Regions from separate parts of the Homo sapiens genome. Here all the other regions are linked to region 2. Evidence: promoter capture Hi-C in 16 types of primary human blood cells and fetal thymus (Javierre and others, 2016). All regions are on one chromosome and are shown on one strand. The core of a region is centred on a gene start or on the middle of the fragment in contact, and the rest is flanking DNA. Distances in the headings are between cores, read along the strand shown.

Region 1 (2,700 bases), core at 158-2,657, 870 kb after region 2:
GTGCCGCAGACACTTGCAAGTTTCCCTCCTCACTCACAGCCCTCACTTAGTTGCCTTTAAACAGGGGCTGCCTTTGAAAAGATTTCTCAGGTGTGAAGGGACACCATGGGGCCTGCATTTCCCTCCACTGCAGACCCCCTGTATTAGTCCATTTTCACACTGCTGATAAAGACATACCCAAGACTGGGTAAATTACAAAGAAAAAGAGGTTTAATGGACTCACAGTTCCACATGAATGAGGAGGCCTCACAATCATGGCAGAAGGTGAAAGGTATGTCTTGCATGGCAGCAGGCAAGAGAGAGAATAAGAGCCAAGCGAAAGGGGTTTCCCCTTATAAAACCATCAGATCTTGTGAGACTTATTCACTACCATGAGAATAGTATGGGGAAAACTGCCCCCATGATTCAATTGTCTCCCACCAGGTCCCTCCCACAACACGTGGGGATTCTGGGAGCTACATTTCAAGATGAGATTTGAGTAGGGACACAGCAAAACTGTATGACCCCCTTTAGGTGAGTGCAGGTGTATTGGGTGCCTTCCATTATCTCTTTGGGAACAGCCACAGTCAGCTACTGATTTCCCGTCCCACACACCTGTCTTGCTCCTTGGAAGCAGCCTCACGCAAATAGAGAATAAAAGCTGCTTTCACAACTTAGCCAAGCAGTGTTACCCCAGGGGATAATCCATCTCTTCCTCTACCCCAGTCCACATTTCACAGGTGGACCCTGCACAAAGCTTCAGAATCCCCGGAGAAGGTGACGGATATTTTGAAATGTCATTTGACATTTAAGTGCCTATCTCTGGTCCCAGATAAAAACAGTGGAGGGCATTTAGAATACAATCAAGTCATAACTTTTAAAAAGGCAAGGGCAGAAATATCATGAACAGGTAGTCACTGAATGAGATAACAGAGAAAACCAACTTGGACAGTCTAAGTGGAGTCATTTCTTCTCGCGTCCTACGGTGACCAGTGTCTCACAGGAGAAAGAAACCAGGGGGCATCAGAGGCTGTTGGAAGGGAGGTGTTGGGACGGACTACTGTGGCTTGCCTGGGACTGTCCAGGGTGTAGCACGGAACATCCTGCCCCACAGCTGACCCTTCAGTTCCAAGCAAACCGAAACAGCTGGGCCAACCAAGTTCCCTCTGTGAAAGTAAGGTAGCATTCACATTCCATTGTCACATGGATTAACTCACTTAATCCAGGGTTCAGCCCTGTTGGGATAAGTTGGCTAATATGATATTTTAGCCCCAGATTGAAGGAAAGAATGGGGTAATGGAAAGAAAAAGGGAGGGAGGGAAAAAGAAAAAAGTCATTGTGCTGGCTACAGCACAGACCACTAGTAGTTAAGACTGTGTGTGTGTTTCAGTGTTTTCTACTGAAAACGCCAAAGAATGCAGAGCTTCTCTTTCAGACCTGGCATCAGGCTTCCGTGAGCCCTTTCCAGGACACCAGTGCATTGAGTCGCTGCTATATACCTGGTGATGAGCCGAAGAGGACATTTTCATAATGAAAGGCAAAGGGGGCCAGGTGTGGTGGCACACACCTGTAATCCCAGCACTTTGGGAGGCCGAGGCGGGCAGATCACTTGAGTCCAGGAGTTGGAGACCAGCCTGGCCAACATGGTGAAACCCTGTCTCTACTGAAAAATACAAAAAAAAATTAGCCGGCTTGGTGATGCATGCCTGTAGTCCCAGCTGCTTGGGAGGCTGAGGCATGAGAATTGCTTGAGCCTGGGAGGTAGAGGCTGCAGTGAGCCAAGATCGCACCACTGCACTTCAGCCTGGGTGAGAGAGCAAGACTCTGTCTCACCAAAAAAAAAAAAAGAAAATGCAGAGGGACAAAGGAGACAAAGAAGAGATGAGTGGAGAGCTGAAAGGCCCCACCTCAACAACTCCTGGAGTTCTAGGCCACATGTGGAGAAGAGCAGGGGAGACTCCTCAGCATAGGTCGCCATGGCGAGGACCTCTCTTCCCTTACAGATGTCTGGGCCTCTGCAGAGTCTCAGTTAAAAAGCATCAGTACATCTGTTTTCACATGAAGTGTGTGCCATTCTAGGAATGCAGGGAAGAAGCTTCCTTCCTAAGTGTATGTCTTCCTGAGAGGGTCGGTGATATGAAGATAGCACATGTGGATTATGCTTGTTTATACTATGGAGCAGGCTCTGGGGTGTCTCCTTTGGAGGGAGCCCTCATGTGAAACTTACTGTAACATTGTCAATGTGGTGGCACCTTTAGGAGCTCACTGATAAATGCAGTGTACAAACACCCCATTTTATGTATTGGTTTTTCTTTTAGTACTTTATTTTTTTCCTTTTTAATTTTAATTTTTATTTTAATAGTCTGTAGGGTACAGGTGGCTTTTGGTTACATGGATAAGTTCTTTAGCAGTGATTTCTGAGATTTTAGCACACACGTCAACCGAACAGTGTGCACTGTACCCAGTATGTAGTCTTTTCTTCCTCACCCCGCTAGTCCCCAAAATGCATTATATAGAATTCTTATGGCTTCCCATCCTCATAGCTTAGATTCCACTTATAAGTGAGAGCATACGATATTTGGATTTCCATTCCTGAGTTACTTAGAATAATGGCCTCCAGCTCCATCCATGTTGCTGCAGAAGACATTATTTCATTCCTTTTTATGTCTGAGTAGTATTCCATGGTGTATATATGCCTCATTTTCTTTATCCGCTCATTGG
Region 2 (2,700 bases), core at 151-2,650:
TACATGCAAACAATAACACCACCAAAGGAGTTAGACCACTGCTTCAGGATTCTGTTAAAACGCAGATGCCGACTCAGATCAGAGATGGGACCTGGGATCCTTCCTTTCTCATGAGCTTCCTGGAAGATGCAGTTCTGGGGAGGATCACACTCGACCTTAAAGAGCTAGAAGATTGTGGAAGGTTTAAGGACTGGAGTGTGTCCTGTATTTTCCTAATGTACGTTGTGCCTTCCCTTCACTAAATTCCGGTAGAGGTAAAGAATTCTGAGTAATGCAGTCATTCTACGATAAGGCAATAAGGTGTTTCAGGATCAATTTTCTCTAAAGAATAGTTATGTGAATTAAAAACATCTTCCCTAATCGTCACATCAAGGACTCACAGGTGTTGTTGGCCAGAGACGATACACCAAAACAGAAAGAAAAAGCCCAAACCAGAGGCAATTTGGAGAGCTCCACCCCTCCTCCCTGTTTTGTCTAAGGTAGAGACATTCTCGCAGACGCTCCTTTGTAGCCTCAGAGAAAGTAAATCTCTGCCCTTAAACTAGGGGACCTGGAGAGCCTTCAATCACGAAGTCAGGGATTCCTCCAGGCTTGGTTATTAGGATTAGATAAGGAAAACACCGTTTGGGGAGAGAAAGAATTATCAGAGTCCTTTAAATCTTGGTGGGCATGGCAGGCATCTTGGCGGTCGTTGAAGCTGCTTAAGTCTGAGCCAAAGGTGCCAGAGGACAAAACAGCCACCTGCTCACGGCCCCCTATGTGGAAAAAGCTTTCCAATTTAGCTCTCTCATTTTAGCATCTCAATCTGCACATAAGGCACGCGGGAAACTCAGAGAGGTTATGCTACCTGCTCAAGGTCACACAGCCTAAGGTCAACTGAGGATATGAAAGTTCCCCAGAGTCATAGTCCAGCTTTTCCTTTAGATAGCACTTCTTAAAAAAACCAAAGGCACGCCTTGAAAAGCTGCGGGATGTCCAGCCCCAAAATAGCCGCTGGAGTTGGCCCCTAGGGGCAGCTGGACCGCCCAGGCGGGCGAAAGGGTGGAGAGGGAGAAGAACCACTTCCGGGAAACAGACGCGAAGAGGGTAAGGCACTTCCGGGGCACAGAAAATGAGGATTATTAAAGGTCAGTTGCTCGCAGGTAAGGGCCAAGTAGCGTTAAAAGACACGTAAGGATTACAACGCCTCTCTAGGGTGTGGGTTAAAATGTCTCTCTAGGTACTCGAAGATAACATGACTCTAAACGAGGAATCCTTGCCTGCGCTGGAGGACGCTCCGGTCTAGCGGCCAGGTTGAGTCCAGAAGTTTAAATAGAGCAGGCGGGGCCTAGCGGGCGCCTTCGTCGGCGCGATGACGTCACATACCTGCGCGGGAGGCGGTACCAACCCCTGCCGCAGGACTTTCCTGGGCCGGCTCGCGGAGAGCGTAGCGCGGCCTTGGTGGCGGAATGGCGTTGAGTGACGGCCCGGCCCCGCCATCTGGTTAAAGGGACTCGTTCAACACGGAAGTGTCCCGGGGCTGCATTGGTACGGAGCCCTGGGGCCCAGCAAGGGTGTGCTCCTGCGGGACTGATGCGGGGACCACCCCGGCCCTGCCGGCCTCCAAGCCGCGGGAGGGCACTGAGCCTGTGCTGGCTGGGCCTGGCCGCCTGGTTGCTACACACCCAACCCCCTTCCCGTCCCCATTTGCAGAAGTGGAATCAAAACTGGGGCTTGACCCCGGATCGATGACTGGGACTCAGCCTACGCGGACGCCAGCGCAGCCTGCGGCGGCCGAGCCACCTGCCCTCACAGGGCCTGGCCGGGTGCATCAGGAACAGGCGGTCTTAGGTCCCTAAATTCGAGGCCCTGTAATGTGCCTCATCTTGGGGTCCCTGAATGGGGCCCTTGGGCCCCCAAGGAAACCCTGAGACCTTCAGAATGGACAGCCTTGTGGAGGCACAATTTCATTCACTTGGGCAAATTGTGCGCACTGAGGCATAGGAAAACATGTAATTTTGTATTTAGATGTGTTCCAAGTATAAAGTGGCGTGGCTGACATTTCATAGAGCCTTAAATTGCCTTCACCAGGCATGACCTCAGTTTGTGTTGAGATACTTGGCAAAGAAATGTATTGCATTGTTGAGTGATTGCTTATTGCGTTACTGAGTAATTGTATTGGCGTTCATAAAAGCATGGGTGCTCACAATAGAAATTGGGAAGGGGAGTAGGGAACTGTATTTGAAATCTTCTGATACACTTACCAAGAACAAATGTATTGTTCATTTGGAATTTGATACGGTCTCTAATAATTTTCTGTTTCATAATGGTAGTGCCGCCCCCACCCGCAAAACGTTTCAAAGGGTCAAGAGAAAAGACCAAATGCCCTTGTCAACTGGAATTTATACGTCTGTTTCCTGCCAAGTAATTAAATCGTAGATTCATAATCTATGTACCGAATAAATGTGGAATGTTTTTGTTTTGTTTTGTTTTAATGTATAAGACTTGGGTCAAGGTGAGGAGGGAAAGAAAGGGTTTCCTTGAAAGATTCTTGTGTTTAATTAGAATTAATTGAAACCACTGTGCTTAAAACAGAGAATGATGTTAGAAGAAAGCCTTGGAACGATGATCAACATAAGACTACACAGTATGTGGGATAAACTATTCCAACTTACAGCATTTTTGTTTTTTGTATTGCCAGTGCTACAGCTAGAATGAAGC
Region 3 (2,700 bases), core at 106-2,605, 820 kb before region 2:
AAAGGCCAGGGTTGTTGCTAAAAATCCCACACAGAAGACAGTCTCCAAGACGAAGAGGGATCCTGTCTAAAACGTCAATGGGGTTGATGTTGAGAAACCATGAGTTTCCCATTATTTTAATCCAATTACCAGGACTTTTCTGAAATCTACTATTTGAATTTAGGGAAAAGTATTCTTCTTGTTGATTCTCTAACCTGGAGGCATTCAAATCACCAAGGTGCTTTAAACAATACTGACACCAAAGCCACCCCAGACCAATTAAATGTGGATGTCTCGCAGTAGGGCCTAGGCCTCTGCATTTTAAAATTCCTAATAGTTTTTAGCATTGAGCAGCACCCATTTAAATGATATAATGTAGGCCGGGCGCGGTGGCTCGCGCCTGAAATCCTAGCACTTTGGGAGGCCGAGGTGGGCAGATCACGAGGTCAGGAGATCGAGACCATCCTGGCTAACACAGTGAAACCCCGTCTCTACTAAAAATACAAAAAATTAGCCCGGCGGGCTAATTAGTGTGGCGGGCACCTATAGTCCCAGCTACTCGGGAGGCTGAGGCAGGAGAATGGCGTGAACCCGGGAGACGGAGCTTGCAGTGAGCCGAGATCGCACCACTGCACTCCAGCCTGGGCAACAGAGCAAGACTTCGTCTCAAAATAAATAAATAAATAAAATAATGCAGGAACTCAAAACCACCCACAGTTGATTTATCTTATCCACACTAAAAGTATCCACAAATAAAATGACACAATTCTCCAACTTAAACCAGAATTTAACAGCTGTCATTACTCCATAAGTTCCTATGTACTTGTTTATATTTTATAAAAGAAGATTTTCTTTCACTTAAAGAAAAATCCACATTAAAAAACAGAAAAGAAAGTTTTGGAATATAATAAAAGTATTTCCTTCTTTGTTTTGACAACTTTGTGGCAACCTTCAAGTTCTAAGTCCATTTCTTTATAGTGAATATTTCAGTGACTCATCAGAGAGGCAAGCTAATAATAATAATAATAATAATAGTTCACCTTATGTAGTATTTCATGCTGTTAGTGTGTGAGATTGCAAGTCTAAATCAAAGCCATTATAATTTATCTGTAATTAGAAACCAGCACTTGCCGAGCAAGGTGCTTGTAATCTCAGCACTTTAGGAGGCTGAGGCAGGCGAATCACTTGAGGCTGGGAGTTCAAGACCAGCCTAGCCAACATGGAAAAATCCCATCTCTACCAAAAAATACAAAAATCAGCCAGATGTGGTAGCACCTGCCTGTAATCTCAGCTGCTCAGGAGGCTGAGGCAGGAGAATCGCTTGAACCCAGGAGGCGGAGGCTGCAGTGAGCTGAGATCACGCCACTGCGCTCCAGCCTGGATGACAGAGCGAGACTGCATCTCAAAAAACAAACAAACAAAGAACAACAACAACAACAACAATAAAACTCAGCACATAAAAATGCCTGTGGATTGAGAATTTTAAAATCGCTTTTAGAATAATTAGCGGTGGGGGGAGGGGGGAGGGATAGCATTGGGAGATATACCTAATGCTAGATGACGAGTTAGTGGGTGCAGCTCACCAGCATGGCACATGTATACATATGTAACTAACCTGCACAATGTGCACATGTACCCTAAAACTTAAAGTATAATAAAAAAAAAAGAAGAATAATTAGCTGTGGTTTGAACTTAAACAGTCTGCTTTTTTACTTGGATTCTTATTCACTTCCCTTCACTTTAATTACAGTGGTGCAAGTATTATCTCTCTCTCTCTCTCCACCCCCGTCTCTTTCTCTCTTTCTCTCTCTCTCTGTCTCTCTCCGTCTCTCTCCGTCTCTCCCCACCATGTGCTCAGAACTTTCCCGGAATTAGTTACGAAGTTAGAAATAAACAGAAGTTGACTTATCATATTACTGAATAGTCTCCCAATAGCATTTAAAAAGCACATTTAACAGGAGTCTCTCCTGAAACTCACCCAAGTAATTGGAAAGTAAATGAGTCTTAACAGAGATAAAAGAATACAATTCAATAAAAGTAGCAGAAAACCTCAAATGACTGACACAGAGAGATTTCCCACATATTACTTCCCAATATTGCATTACTTAAAATTTGCCCAAATTACCCGTCTGCACATTCCAGAGCTCACCAACCTGTAGATATAAGGAAAGACATATTATTGTAGTAACTATTTTTCTAGCTTGTGGTGCCTTTTAAAATCCTCTGAAATCTCCTTATAGCTGTTTTATACCCACACTTACTCCTATGTGATCTCATTTGGCCCATTTTATTTTGAACATTATGCATATAATGCTGATCCTGAAATCCGTGTCTCCCAGGAGAGTGAAAAACTATAAAGAAAGGCATTCCCTCCCTGCAGACAGGCACAGTGAGCTCCACAGAAGGCCAGCCTCATTCTTATGCCTTTGCGTCCTCATAGCTTAGCTCCCACATATCAGTGAGAACACACAATGTTTGGTTTTCCATTCCTGAGTTACTTCACTTAGAATAATAGTCTCCAATCTCATCCAGGGCACTGCAAATGCTGTTAATTCATTGCTTTTTATGGCTGCATAGTATTCCATCATATATATATCACAGTTTCTTTATCTACTTGTTGATTGATTTGGGTTGGTTCCACAATTTTGCAATTGTGAATGGTGCTGCTATAAACATGTGTGTGCAAACATCTTTTTCGAATAATGACTTCTTTTCCTCTGG
Region 4 (2,700 bases), core at 153-2,652, 800 kb before region 2:
TGTTTATTTCTTTATGCAGTATATCAAATATATATATCTGTATATATATATATCTGTATATATATATCTGTATATATATATATCTGTATATATATATCTGTATATATATATATCTGTATATATATATCTGTATATATATATATCTGTATATATATCTGTATATATATATCTGTATATATATATATCTGTATATATATATCTGTATATATATATCTGTATATATGTATATCTGTATATATATATCTGTATATATATATCTGTATATATATATATATCTGTATATAATATTATTTATCCACATGTGTGTATTTGGACACCTAAATTAAAAAGGTAATATTGTTGGTGCAAGTGTTCCCACTTTTAAAAATGTAATCATAAATTTGGAGGTTATCATATTTATTCAAAATAAATTCACCACCTTTCATGTTCTCACCTACCAGGTATGTTTCAGTGAATGAGTATAAAATGTTGGGGTTAAGGTAGAGAGACTTATGAAAGTGTTAGGGGGTACTGCTTGTATTAAGTCAGAAATGGAGAAGTTCCAATGGATTACTTGGTATTGCTGTCCAGAAACCTGACTCTCATACCATTTTGGGGGGAAGAGAGGTTTGGGACAGCAATTAATGAAGCATATCCATATTATCAAAAGGCATTTTTATTTATGAAATAGGAATAGAAATAACTGAAAATGTCTCTTTGCAGTGCCTTGTGTAAAGTATAGAATAACATAATTTCTGGGCATCATCTAAGCTCACAGAGCCTTAGGGTTCTGAAGTCAGCTACCTTTCAACTTTTCCATTTAACTTACCCTGGCCTCCATATTTTGAAAGCAGGTTGTCTATCAACATATGGCGTTTATTAAGTATGACCTAGTTTTTCCTCTTTACATTAATCAAAGATAGCCATAACTCTTTCAAGCTTTAGATTAGCATTAGGTTGCCCCCATGACCAGAGCTGATTGATAAAATGAATAGTTATGACATTTTAGTTCTCTTTGCACCATCATCTTAGGAAAATGTGTCATTTTGGGGAGTTTTCTGAAATATTTTAAAAGAGGTGATATACACCAATTCCTTCTCCAGTCGATGCAGTTGTTGACCTCTTGCCTCTTACCCCACCATCCCCCGGCTCCTGTATCAGCTGCTAATAGCTTACAGCTGCTTCCTTTTAAGGGAATAACCTTTGGCCGATGGGCACCATCTTGCTTGCAAGGTCATGCATCCTCCTCCCTTGATGTGCGCAGACCATGGCGATTGGCTCTCTGCTCAGGGGATATAGGAGGTCAGCCCCCTGCTGGAATCAGCTCTGTAATGCAATTCATGCCCAAAAGCATCGCATGGGATCAGGCTTATGCAGGGCTCTGGCTGAGAGCCCATCCCCACACAGGTCTTATCTCTGCCTTCTCCTGCTTCCTCTCTTCCCTCTTCTACTGAGAGCTTTTCTCTCCGCCCCAATATTACCTCATGTCCGAGAAACCCCATTTCAACCTCTGCTTCTAGGAAACCCAGTCTAAGACACCTCCCTTCAGAAACACGTGGTTCCATTCAACACTTTTGTTTTTTCTGATCAGACAACTCGGTTCTTATAGAAATGACCTGTTCAAGCTAGTAGGTAGAATAAGTAAAAATATAAGTTAGCTTTTACACTCTCAGCTAAGACTTCATTTACTATCCTTCAAAAAATTGAGAGGGTATACAAAGTTTAAACATCATTTTAAATAAAGAAACAGATTCAGAAGATTTTCTGTTACTTGAATTTAGTTTCTAGCTCCTGATGACTTCAGTAAAAAGATTTCAATTCTTGGACCTAGTAGGTAAGCACATCATGCTCCCTCATTGTTGAGAATTCAATGAAATGTGAAAATATGCACTGTTCAGGCAAGCTTGAAATAGCTGTAGGGTAAGTGGGCAGTAGCTGGAGTGAGAGGACATCATTAACGACAGTACTACATGGCAGGTCTAGGAAGAAGGCAAGGGAGCCCCAATAGTTCAGGTATCAGCCAACATTGGATTTACTCAGCATGCAACTAGTGGAGCTACACCCCAAAAAAGCTACATCCTCCAGGACCTGCAATCCTTTGTATATTTTAAAAATGTAATTTGTGTATGGTTTCAAAGAGGTGAGGGGAGACATTTTCCCTGATGGTAAAGAGGGTTGGATAAAAATAGTTATACTTATTAGCCAATATGTAAAAAATGCCCAGAAAGGAACAAATGTAGCATTTGTAGATTGTTTTCATGTAAATCACTGTCTGCATAGGTGCTGAATCTGTTTCTTTCTTTAAAAAGTACTGATTTATTTGCATTTCCCTGATCACTAGTGATGTTGAGCATGTTTTTCATACGTTTGTTGGCCAGTTGTATATCTTCTTTTGAGAATTGTTTATTTATGTCCTTAGCCTACTTTTTGATGGGATTGCTTGTTTTTTCTTCTTGCTGATTTGTTTGAGTTCCTTGTAGATTCTGGATATTAGTTATTTGTCAGATGTATAGGTTGTGAAGATTTTCTCCCACTTTGTGGGTTGTCTGTTTACTCTGCTGACTGTTCTTTTTGCCGCGCAAAAGCTCTTCAGTTTAATTAAGTCCCACCTATTTATCTTTGTTTTTGTTGTGTTTGGTTTTGGGTATTTGGTCATGAAATCTTTGCCTAAGCCAGTGTCTCAAAGGGTTATTCCAATGTTATCTTCTAGAATTTTTATAG
Region 5 (2,700 bases), core at 188-2,687, 760 kb after region 2:
CCAGCACTTTGGGAGGCAGAGGTGAGCAGATCACCTGAGGTCAGGAGTTTAAGACCAGCCTGGCCAACATGGTAAAACCCCGTCTCTACCAAAAAATACAAAAAAAAATTAGCTGAGCATGATGGTGGGCACCTGTAGTCCCAGATACTGGGGAGGCTGAGGTGGGAGAATTGTTTGAACCAAGGAGGCAGAGATTGCAGTGAGCTGAGATCGAGCCACTGCACTTCATCCTGGTGACAGAATGAGACCCTATCTAAAAAAAGTTCTGCAGTGAAACAAAATGAATACCCACAATCTGTGGGATGAATGAAGACTTTTCACTTTATGTTAGTTTTATGTTAGTTGGTTCGAGCTGGTGTCACTGCCAAGTATGTTAGAAAAACTCTGGGTTTTCAATGTTTTTCTTTTCTATTTTTGGTTATGGACAAAGGATTGCAAACCTACATTTCTGAAGGCAAGATTTGAAAAGAAGTGGTAAAGTCCTGTGGGCTGAGAAGTCAGGTACTGGAAAAGCCACCTATGCTGAACAGAACCTTGGCCAAGTCACTTGGATGTGGATAGCTCCAGAGTTTCCTCATAGGCAGAAGAGGTGACAAGTTGAGACCCAGGGAATGCTTGCCCAATGACCCAGGTCAAACCAGCTGTGACAAGCTCTAGCAAAAACACAGAGCTGCCTGGCCAGCTGGAAAAAGAGCTGAGAACAGACTCAAAACAGTGATCTCCACACCTCTTCTGTGATCCCAGATGCCGGTTCTTATCTGTTTCCAATTTGGTGATTCTACACAAGAGACAGTTTTGCAACCCAAGAAACATCTGGTGATATCTGGAGACAAGCTTGGATGTTATAACTTAGCAGTGGGTGGGAGGTGCTGCTGGCATCTGCTGGGTGGAGCCCAGGGATAATGCTCAGCACCCTATGGTGCACAGGACAGCCACCACCAGAGAGTGACCCAGCCCCAAATGTCTGCAGTGCTGAGGTTGAAAAACCCTGCTCTAAGTAAGCTCTGTCTCATGCATTTTTTTTTTTTTTTTTTTTTGAGACGGAGTCTTGCTCTGTCGCCCAGGCTGGAGTGCAGTGGTGTGATCTCGGCTCACTGCAACGTCTGCATCCCGGGTTCAAGCAATTCTCCTGCCTCAGCCTCCTGAGTAGCCGAGATTACAGGCGCGCGCCACCAGGCCCAGCTAATTTTTTTTTTTTTTTTTTTTTTTTTAGTATAGACGGGGTTTCACCATGCTGGCCCAGCTGGTCTCAAACTCCTGACCTCGTGATCCACCTGCCTCCGCCTCCCAAAGTGCTGGGATTACAGGCGTGAGCCACTGCGCCCGGCCAGTCTTACACATTTTAAATGCTTATTTCAGGCCAGAGATTGTCATCCGGGAGGATGATTTTACCTACCAGGAGACATTTGGCAACATCTGGAGATATTGTGGGTTGCTGCATCCTACCACGCACTGGATAGCCCCTACAGCAAGGAATCACCCAGCCCCACGTACCAACAGTGCCTCCGTGGGGAATCGCTGGATAGACAAATTCATTGTGAAAGAGAACGTCCCAGTCTCTATCTCTAAACTAAAAATCTCCCAGTCTTGGAACCGCCAAGAGGAACCCGGGACCCTAAGCCATCTCTGTTCCATCCCCCTGGGCTTTCTCCCAGACCTCACAGTTGAAGGTGCTTCTCCTAATTAGCCCTGTGCCAAGTCTCTGCCCTGCACTTCCTTCTCATAATAAGCATTTAATTATTATTGACATTGGTACTTGCAGTATTTATACTGCTTGTTTTCCTTCACAGAAAACACCTGAGGTGAGACTGGACTTCTGCTTCATCATTGCCACATCCTCTGTTACCTGTGTCCCTGGGGCACTGGGGAAGTGCTTGTTGACTCAGTGGCCAAGTTTGACAGGGGTTAATTTCCAACCAAGGCTCGAATTTTAAGGAGAAGACAAGATGGAAACAAAACAATGGTGACAGAACCTGGTCTAGAAAGCATGGCTTAGGACTTTTGGCCATAAACTCTTAATGCTTATTTTATTCAAGCTTTTAAGGGATGCTCAACATCTACTATTTAGGTTTTTAATGCAAAGAGGAGTCATTATTATCTTTTTTTCATGCACTGAAAGCTTTTAGATTTCTGTCTCCTGATATCAGCTGTGATGTGATAATCTCATTATAAATGAATATGGGGCAATTTCTCAGTTGGCAAATAGTAATGTCACTATAGATACCAACTCACAGGGTACTCAGTAAAGCATTGTCATGTGTTCCTTGAGACAAAGAGTACCTACAGTAAATGACACGAAATGGAGCAAACTTTCTGTAAAATAATTTTAACACTTTTAGTGATATTATTTTCAGTGAAAATTATTTCTAACATTCCTCCAACTCAATCTGCTCGGGTTGGCACAGAAGACAAAACTGATGTGTACATGAAATATGTTGATACTCTGATAAGAAGTAAAGTAAGCATGAACTGGACATCTTAATTCATTATAATTGCTCATAAGATAACAGAGAGTTTACTTGAAAGAGATCAAAGGAATTTCTTAGCATCTCTCTTTGGGGAAAAAATCATCCATTTGGTTGGTTCATAATTACTAGATTATGTACAGCATGCATTGCAAAAGTTAAATTGTTTTTGGATGTTCATTTTCTGCAATTAATATAAATTTTCAGAAAACACTAACTGATCTCTGAACTACAT
Region 6 (2,700 bases), core at 35-2,534, 830 kb after region 2:
TTCTGTTTCTAAATGTGTGGTGGTTCTCCTGTGGATTTCTAAGTCTTTAGGAGTATAGGATAATGAACAAGAGAAATCCTTACCTCAAGGACCTCTCGATTCAAAGGAGAGGAAATGAGTAGATAAATGACCACAATGGGTTGAATCAAGTCACTGTCCCTCCGGGAGGGGTGTGCTCACAGCATAGGACAGCACTGTGGAGCTGCACAGACAGGCTTTGAGGGGTGTTAGGTGCCAGCACTCTCTGCACACTGCAGTCAGGACGAGGGAGTGGGGAGGGCAGTGACTTTTAGGTGAGCATCCAGGTGTAGAGCGCTGCCAGCTTGCCCCGAGTCCCAGCACCCGCTCACAGCCTCCTGGCGCCAGTAGTAGAAATGGTTGCACAAAGCAACCAATGAGAAATACTTTCAGTTTTCCATCTGCCACACAGAGAAGGTAGGAGAGGCTTGCAAAGGGAATAGCATCCAGTCCTTTTGTTACTTGGGCATGGAAAGTTGGGGTTTTCCTTTTGATTGAGTTCTGGGAAGTCAGCATGAATCAGCTTTCGGTTCCCTGCCTCCAGACCCTATTCTCCTGCTTCAGTATGATGTCCCTAGAGTTGTCAAATCCATAGAGGCAGAAAGTAGAATTGTGATTGCCAGGGGCTGGGGGAGGGGGATGGAGGTTTTAGCATTTAATGGGGACAGAGTTTCACCTTGGGGAGATGAACACGTTCTGGACATGGATGGTGGTGATGGCTGTACAACAATGTGAATGTACTGAATGCCACAGAATTGTACACTGAGAAATCATTAAAACAGTACATTTTATATTGTAGGTGTTTTACCACATACAACAATAGTTATTCTTTTTCAAATGGCAAGAAGCCATTCAAGGATTTTGGAGTTGTGTTTTGGCAAAGCTCCTGTGCAGATGAGGTAGAAAGCCTGTAGTGAGTAGACACAAATGTGGTTTTTCACATAAGTGTTGTGGATAAGTGCATCTCCTTATCCCCAACAGAATCATACACTCTTATCAGGGAAGACAGGTGTCTCTCATACGCCCCAAGCACCTGGGTCATGGGGACTTGGGCCCAGTGTCATGGGCAGGTTTGAGTGAGGTCAGGAGTACCTCGCACCACGCCTACTCTCTTGAGGTGGTTTCTGCACCACTTCTATACGGTGGGACCTTTCATCTCCATAGCATGGTAGACACAAGAATACAGGGAAAGTCTTACTCTCTCCTTTCTAGAGGATTCCTTAGAGAGTAGACTGTAAGAGCAAGACTTTAATATTTGAGACTATTGACAGAGACACCATCAACAGAAACTCCTCACAACAAAGCTCTAGCCATAAAACTGAAATTTCTATGAAATATTTGCAAAAAAAAATTGACAATAGGAAACTATGATATTTTATAGTAAGTAGTCCACAAATTAGGTTAAGAACTTTAAAATTAGTTTGGGATTACTATAACTTAAAGTATTCTGTTATTTTTGTCTTATTGTTGAATGCATAAGGCAAAATGAATCCATTTTTGATGTGAGTTATTTAAAAGAAGAATACTTTTCTGTTACCTCTTATTTGTGAAGAAATTGAAAACTGAAACTCTTTCCCAATCTTTATATCATTTGCACTTTTATGTTTGTTTTGTGACGTAGTCAGGGTTGTTCTTATTTGCATTATGTAGGTGAGGATACAGGTTCAGAGAAGTGAAACGGAGAAGGAGAAGTTTGACCCTGGCCTTGTAGGCCATTACCAGGCTGCTTTTATTGAGAACCTCAGGTATGGCATTCTCTACGATGAGTTAAATGCCTTCTTCAGATTGGGTTTTATAATACTTGTGCTTGTTTAGGTAAGAGAATTTACATTGTTTAATCACGTAGAGAGCTATAGTAGAAAATCAGGAAAATTGAATGAGCTATTATGTTAACATTTCCTAGTTTGTATCTTTTCCTTTGGCTATTAATCATAAGCTATTTAAATAGCTGTTTTATACATTTATTTTGTAGTGATAGATCCTTAGAAGTAGCAACCCGAAAAGTGATTCAAAGTAAATGAAATTAGTACTGTAAGCAGCTTTCTGGCAAATCAAAGAAGACACAAAATCAAATATTTTTCTGAGGATGGTCAGTATTTTGAGATAGTTGGTCAGGTTCTCCAGATCTTAAGAAAGCCAATGAAAGAAAAAGTCCATTTAAGGCCGGGCGCGGTGGCTCACACCTGTAATCCCAGCATTTTGGGAGGCCAAGGCAGGTGGATCACTTGAGGTCAGGAGTTCGAGACCAGCCTGGCCAACATGGTGAAACCCTGTCTGTATAAAAATACAAAAAAAATTAGCTGGGCATGGTGGCGGGCGCCTGTAGTTCCAGCTACTTGAGAGGCTGAGGCAGGAGAATTGCTTGAACTAGGGAGGCAGAGATTGCAGTGAGCTGAGATCATGCCTCTGCACTCCAGCCTGGTGACAGAGTGAGACTCTGTCTTAAAAAGAACGAATAAAAAGTCCAGTTAAATGTGCCTTCCCTTTGAGTTTCCAGAGCTTTCCACATTCTAGTGAAACCTAGGAGACCTGAGTTACCACAGTCAAGTGGTGAACTAAGTGTGTCCTGATCAGAACAAAATACTGTTCCTCGGTATCTTTCCCTTTCTTTTTTATTTACCATTGACAGCTGGCTACAGAGATCATATAATCTCCAGAAAGAATGCTGGTATAGCTTCTGTG
Region 7 (2,700 bases), core at 150-2,649, 810 kb after region 2:
TACTTACCTCTGATTTTTGCTCACACTCAGCCTCACTGTTCTATAGTTTTGGAGTGTTTCCTGCAAATCACAGTGTCTTTCTGCTATACATTGGGATAAGAAAATATATACATGAATTAGATCTGGTAATGGCAGGCCTTGAGAATAGAGCAAAGGGTAAAACCCAAATATGTCAGCATCCAAGCCCACATAAGTGTGACAGTTCTCCAGACTGTGTTAAAGTTTCCTGATTGTATTAGGACATATTGTATTGCTATAAAGAAATGCCTGAGTCCACGTAATTTGTAAGAAAATGGGTTTAAATGGCTCACAATTCTGTAGGCTATACAGAAAGCAAGCCACTAAGGCGTGTGGCTTGTGTGCCTACAGAGCACCAGGATGAGCTCCCTTTGAGCCCTGGCTGAAGCAGGAGCAGTGGGGATGAGGGGAGCAGTGTCCTGAGGCAGCTGGGCCCTGGGCGTGGCTCAGGAAACCACCCTTCTCTTCTAGGCCCCTGGGCCTGTGATGAGAGAGGCTGCCTTGGAGACTTCTGAAATACCTGTGAGACCTTTCCCCCACTGTTTTGGTGTCAGCACTTCCCTCCTTTTTAGATATGCAAATTTCTCTGGCAAGTGGTTGCTCCACAGCCTGCTTGAATTCCTCTCCTGAAAAAGCTTTTTCGTTCTCTGCCACATGGCCAGGCAGCATATTTCCTAAACTTTTTTGCTCTACCTTCCCTTTAAATATAACTTCCAACTTTGTCATTTCTTTGCTTCTGCATCTGAGCGTAGTCTGTTAGAAGAAGCCAGGTTACACATAGCATGCTTTGCTGCTTAGAAATTTGTTCTGCTAGATAACCTAAAGGATTACCCTGAAGTTCTAACTTCCACAGAACCCTAGGGCATGAACAGAATGCAGCCAAGTTCTTTGCTAAGAAATAACATGTGTGACCTTTCCTCCAGTTCTCAGTTTCTCATTTCCATGTGAGACCTTGTTGGCCTGGACTTCACCATCCATATCACTATCAGCATTTTGATCACAACCATTTAACTGTTCTCTAGGAAGCTGCAACTTTTCTCTCATCTTCCTGTGTTCTTCTGAGCCCTCCAAACTCTTCCAACCTCTGCCTGTTACCCAATTCCAAAGTCACTTCCATATTTTCAGGTATCCTTGTAGCAACACGCCACTTCTGGTACCAATTTTCTGTATTAGGCCGTGCTTGCATTGCCTTAAAGAAATGGCTGAGTCTAGATAATTTAGAAGAACAACGGTTTAATTGGCTCACATTTCTGCAGGTTATACAGGAAGCATAGTGGCAGCTGCTTCGGGGGAGTCCTCAAGAGGCTTACAATCACGGTGGACGGGTAAGCAGGAGCAGGCATGTAACATGGCAAAAGCATGAGCCAGAGAGAGAGTTGGGGGGAGGTACCATGCACTTTTAAACCACCAGCTCTCATGTGAACTCAGAGCAAGAGCTCACTGATCACCAAGTGGAGGATGGCCCAAGCGAAGGATCTGCCCCCATGATCAGTATACCTCCCACCAAGCCCTGCCTCCAACATTGAGGGCTACAATTCAGCATGAGATTTGGGAGGGAATAAATATATAAACTCTATTACTGACCAATGCAGTTTCTCCTCATAAACACTGACCTGATGCAGGGTCTTTTTGGCGTAGAGGGGGCATGGAGATTAGTTCATTCTGATTGGTCATTACCAAAGGCTGGGCAAGGGCATGTGGTAAGGGATGCAGGAGTGCCTGTGGAATATAGAATGGTGAATGAGGCTGAGCAGGGCAGGGGTCCCAGGGCCCAGAGAGAAGTGCCTGGCCCACCATCCACCTGGGAACATGCTAGGGGTTTGCTAACGGATGGCCAAGGTGGCTGGGAAGAAACCAGGAGGCAGGCCAGGGTAGGAGGGCAGCCACACTCATCCCATGAGTCTAGTCGGCAGCCCAGGGTCCTTGGCCAGCTCAATGACTTATCTCCTTTAAGGGACTTGATTGTCTCAGGCATGCCTACAGAGTTTCCACCGCCAGCCAGAGAGCCAAAATGTTTCCCAAGCCAATCCCATGAGATGCCTCACTTCTAGTGAGCCACCCCCAGCCCCCACAACAGCCTCCAGTCAGGGCCCACCTGAAGCCTCCCTTTTCCAACTGTAAAGCTTTCCCAGCTCCCCAACCTGCATTTGAGCTTCTGCCAAAGGCAAGTGCTGGTGTCCAACTTTCTTGCTATGCAATCTCTGAATGAATAGCCTCTGCTCGTTCTCATTTGAAGAGATTTTCATTTACCTTCACACATGGACAGTTATCTTTATAACTTAACTCAGTGCCTCCTCATTTACCAGAATCTGGTCTTTTCGTGGGCTTCTCTTGTCTTCCCGCAAATGTAATAATGCCTTCCTATGACACTAGGATGCTTTGAGCAGATAGACTCTTCCAGTCCATGCAAAGAGGTGGTGTGGTTTGGCCTCACTCCTCACTGCAGGCTTAGGCCAGCTCCCCCTTGCAGCCACGTGCGTGGACGTGACTCTGGGAGTGAAGTGAAATAGCGCTGCCGACAGGATCTGGGCTCTGTGCTGTGTGCCAGGAGCATAGAGAGCAATGTGAAACAGCTGTTGCCCACAGTGACCTTTCAGAACAGTTTTTGCTGTTAGGGTTCTAGGGATTACTAAGTAAGCTTGGCTGGTTAAGAAGGTCAAAAAAAGCCCAAGGCAACCCCAG

Evidence for each region. The method cuts DNA at HindIII sites, captures the fragments that hold promoters and counts their contacts. A CHiCAGO score of 5 or more calls a contact.
Region 1: a contact is called between a fragment that was not itself captured here and the fragment with the promoter of PNPLA4 in region 2, in 1 of 17 cell types (erythroblasts). The highest score is 5.3, in erythroblasts.
Region 3: a fragment that was not itself captured here is called in contact with the fragment with the promoter of PNPLA4 in region 2 in 1 of 17 cell types (M2 macrophages); the score reaches 5.6 in M2 macrophages.
Region 4: a fragment that was not itself captured here is called in contact with the fragment with the promoter of PNPLA4 in region 2 in 1 of 17 cell types (M2 macrophages); the score reaches 5.1 in M2 macrophages.
Region 5: a fragment that was not itself captured here is called in contact with the fragment with the promoter of PNPLA4 in region 2 in 4 of 17 cell types (total CD4 T cells, naive CD8 T cells, non-activated CD4 T cells and 1 more); the score reaches 7.5 in total CD4 T cells.
Region 6: a contact is called between a fragment that was not itself captured here and the fragment with the promoter of PNPLA4 in region 2, in 1 of 17 cell types (naive B cells). The highest score is 6.2, in naive B cells.
Region 7: a contact is called between a fragment that was not itself captured here and the fragment with the promoter of PNPLA4 in region 2, in 1 of 17 cell types (naive B cells). The highest score is 5.6, in naive B cells.

Annotation. Positions count from the first base shown.
Region 1 is chrX:7,051,161-7,053,860 of GRCh38, reverse strand. All of the region lies in intron 3 of PUDP (pseudouridine 5'-phosphatase), which reads left to right. Among named protein-coding and RNA genes, the nearest start is that of STS, 95 kb to the left of the region's middle. The HindIII fragment of the contact is 1,338 bases long and covers 739-2,076 here.
Region 2 is chrX:7,926,113-7,928,812 of GRCh38, reverse strand. PNPLA4 (patatin like domain 4, phospholipase and triacylglycerol lipase) reads left to right here and starts at 1,400. Exons shown (of 7, transcript NM_004650.3): 1 at 1,400-1,527; 2 at 2,681-2,700. The coding sequence starts at 2,694. It overlaps LOC107985675 (a long non-coding RNA gene), which reads right to left and starts at 1,313. Exons shown (of 5, transcript XR_001755784.2): 1 at 1-1,313. RefSeq lists enhancers at 793-872, 1,213-1,262, 1,283-1,522, 1,753-1,982, 2,645-2,694 and a silencer at 2,671-2,700. The HindIII fragment of the contact is 3,086 bases long and covers 772-2,700 here.
Region 3 is chrX:8,746,333-8,749,032 of GRCh38, reverse strand. No RefSeq gene overlaps it. Among named protein-coding and RNA genes, the nearest start is that of ANOS1, 16 kb to the right of the region's middle. The HindIII fragment of the contact is 4,113 bases long and covers 1-2,700 here.
Region 4 is chrX:8,723,095-8,725,794 of GRCh38, reverse strand. The region is part of intron 1 of ANOS1 (anosmin 1); the gene reads left to right. Among named protein-coding and RNA genes, the nearest start is that of ANOS1, 7.7 kb to the left of the region's middle. The HindIII fragment of the contact is 964 bases long and covers 921-1,884 here.
Region 5 is chrX:7,161,394-7,164,093 of GRCh38, reverse strand. The region is part of intron 1 of STS (steroid sulfatase); the gene reads right to left. Among named protein-coding and RNA genes, the nearest start is that of PUDP, 15 kb to the right of the region's middle. The HindIII fragment of the contact is 1,202 bases long and covers 837-2,038 here.
Region 6 is chrX:7,091,120-7,093,819 of GRCh38, reverse strand. The region is part of intron 2 of PUDP (pseudouridine 5'-phosphatase); the gene reads left to right. Among named protein-coding and RNA genes, the nearest start is that of STS, 55 kb to the left of the region's middle. The HindIII fragment of the contact is 5,428 bases long and covers 1-2,700 here.
Region 7 is chrX:7,115,609-7,118,308 of GRCh38, reverse strand. The region is part of intron 1 of PUDP (pseudouridine 5'-phosphatase); the gene reads left to right. Among named protein-coding and RNA genes, the nearest start is that of STS, 31 kb to the left of the region's middle. RefSeq lists enhancers at 1,454-1,953, 2,170-2,279, 1,954-2,455. The HindIII fragment of the contact is 1,488 bases long and covers 656-2,143 here.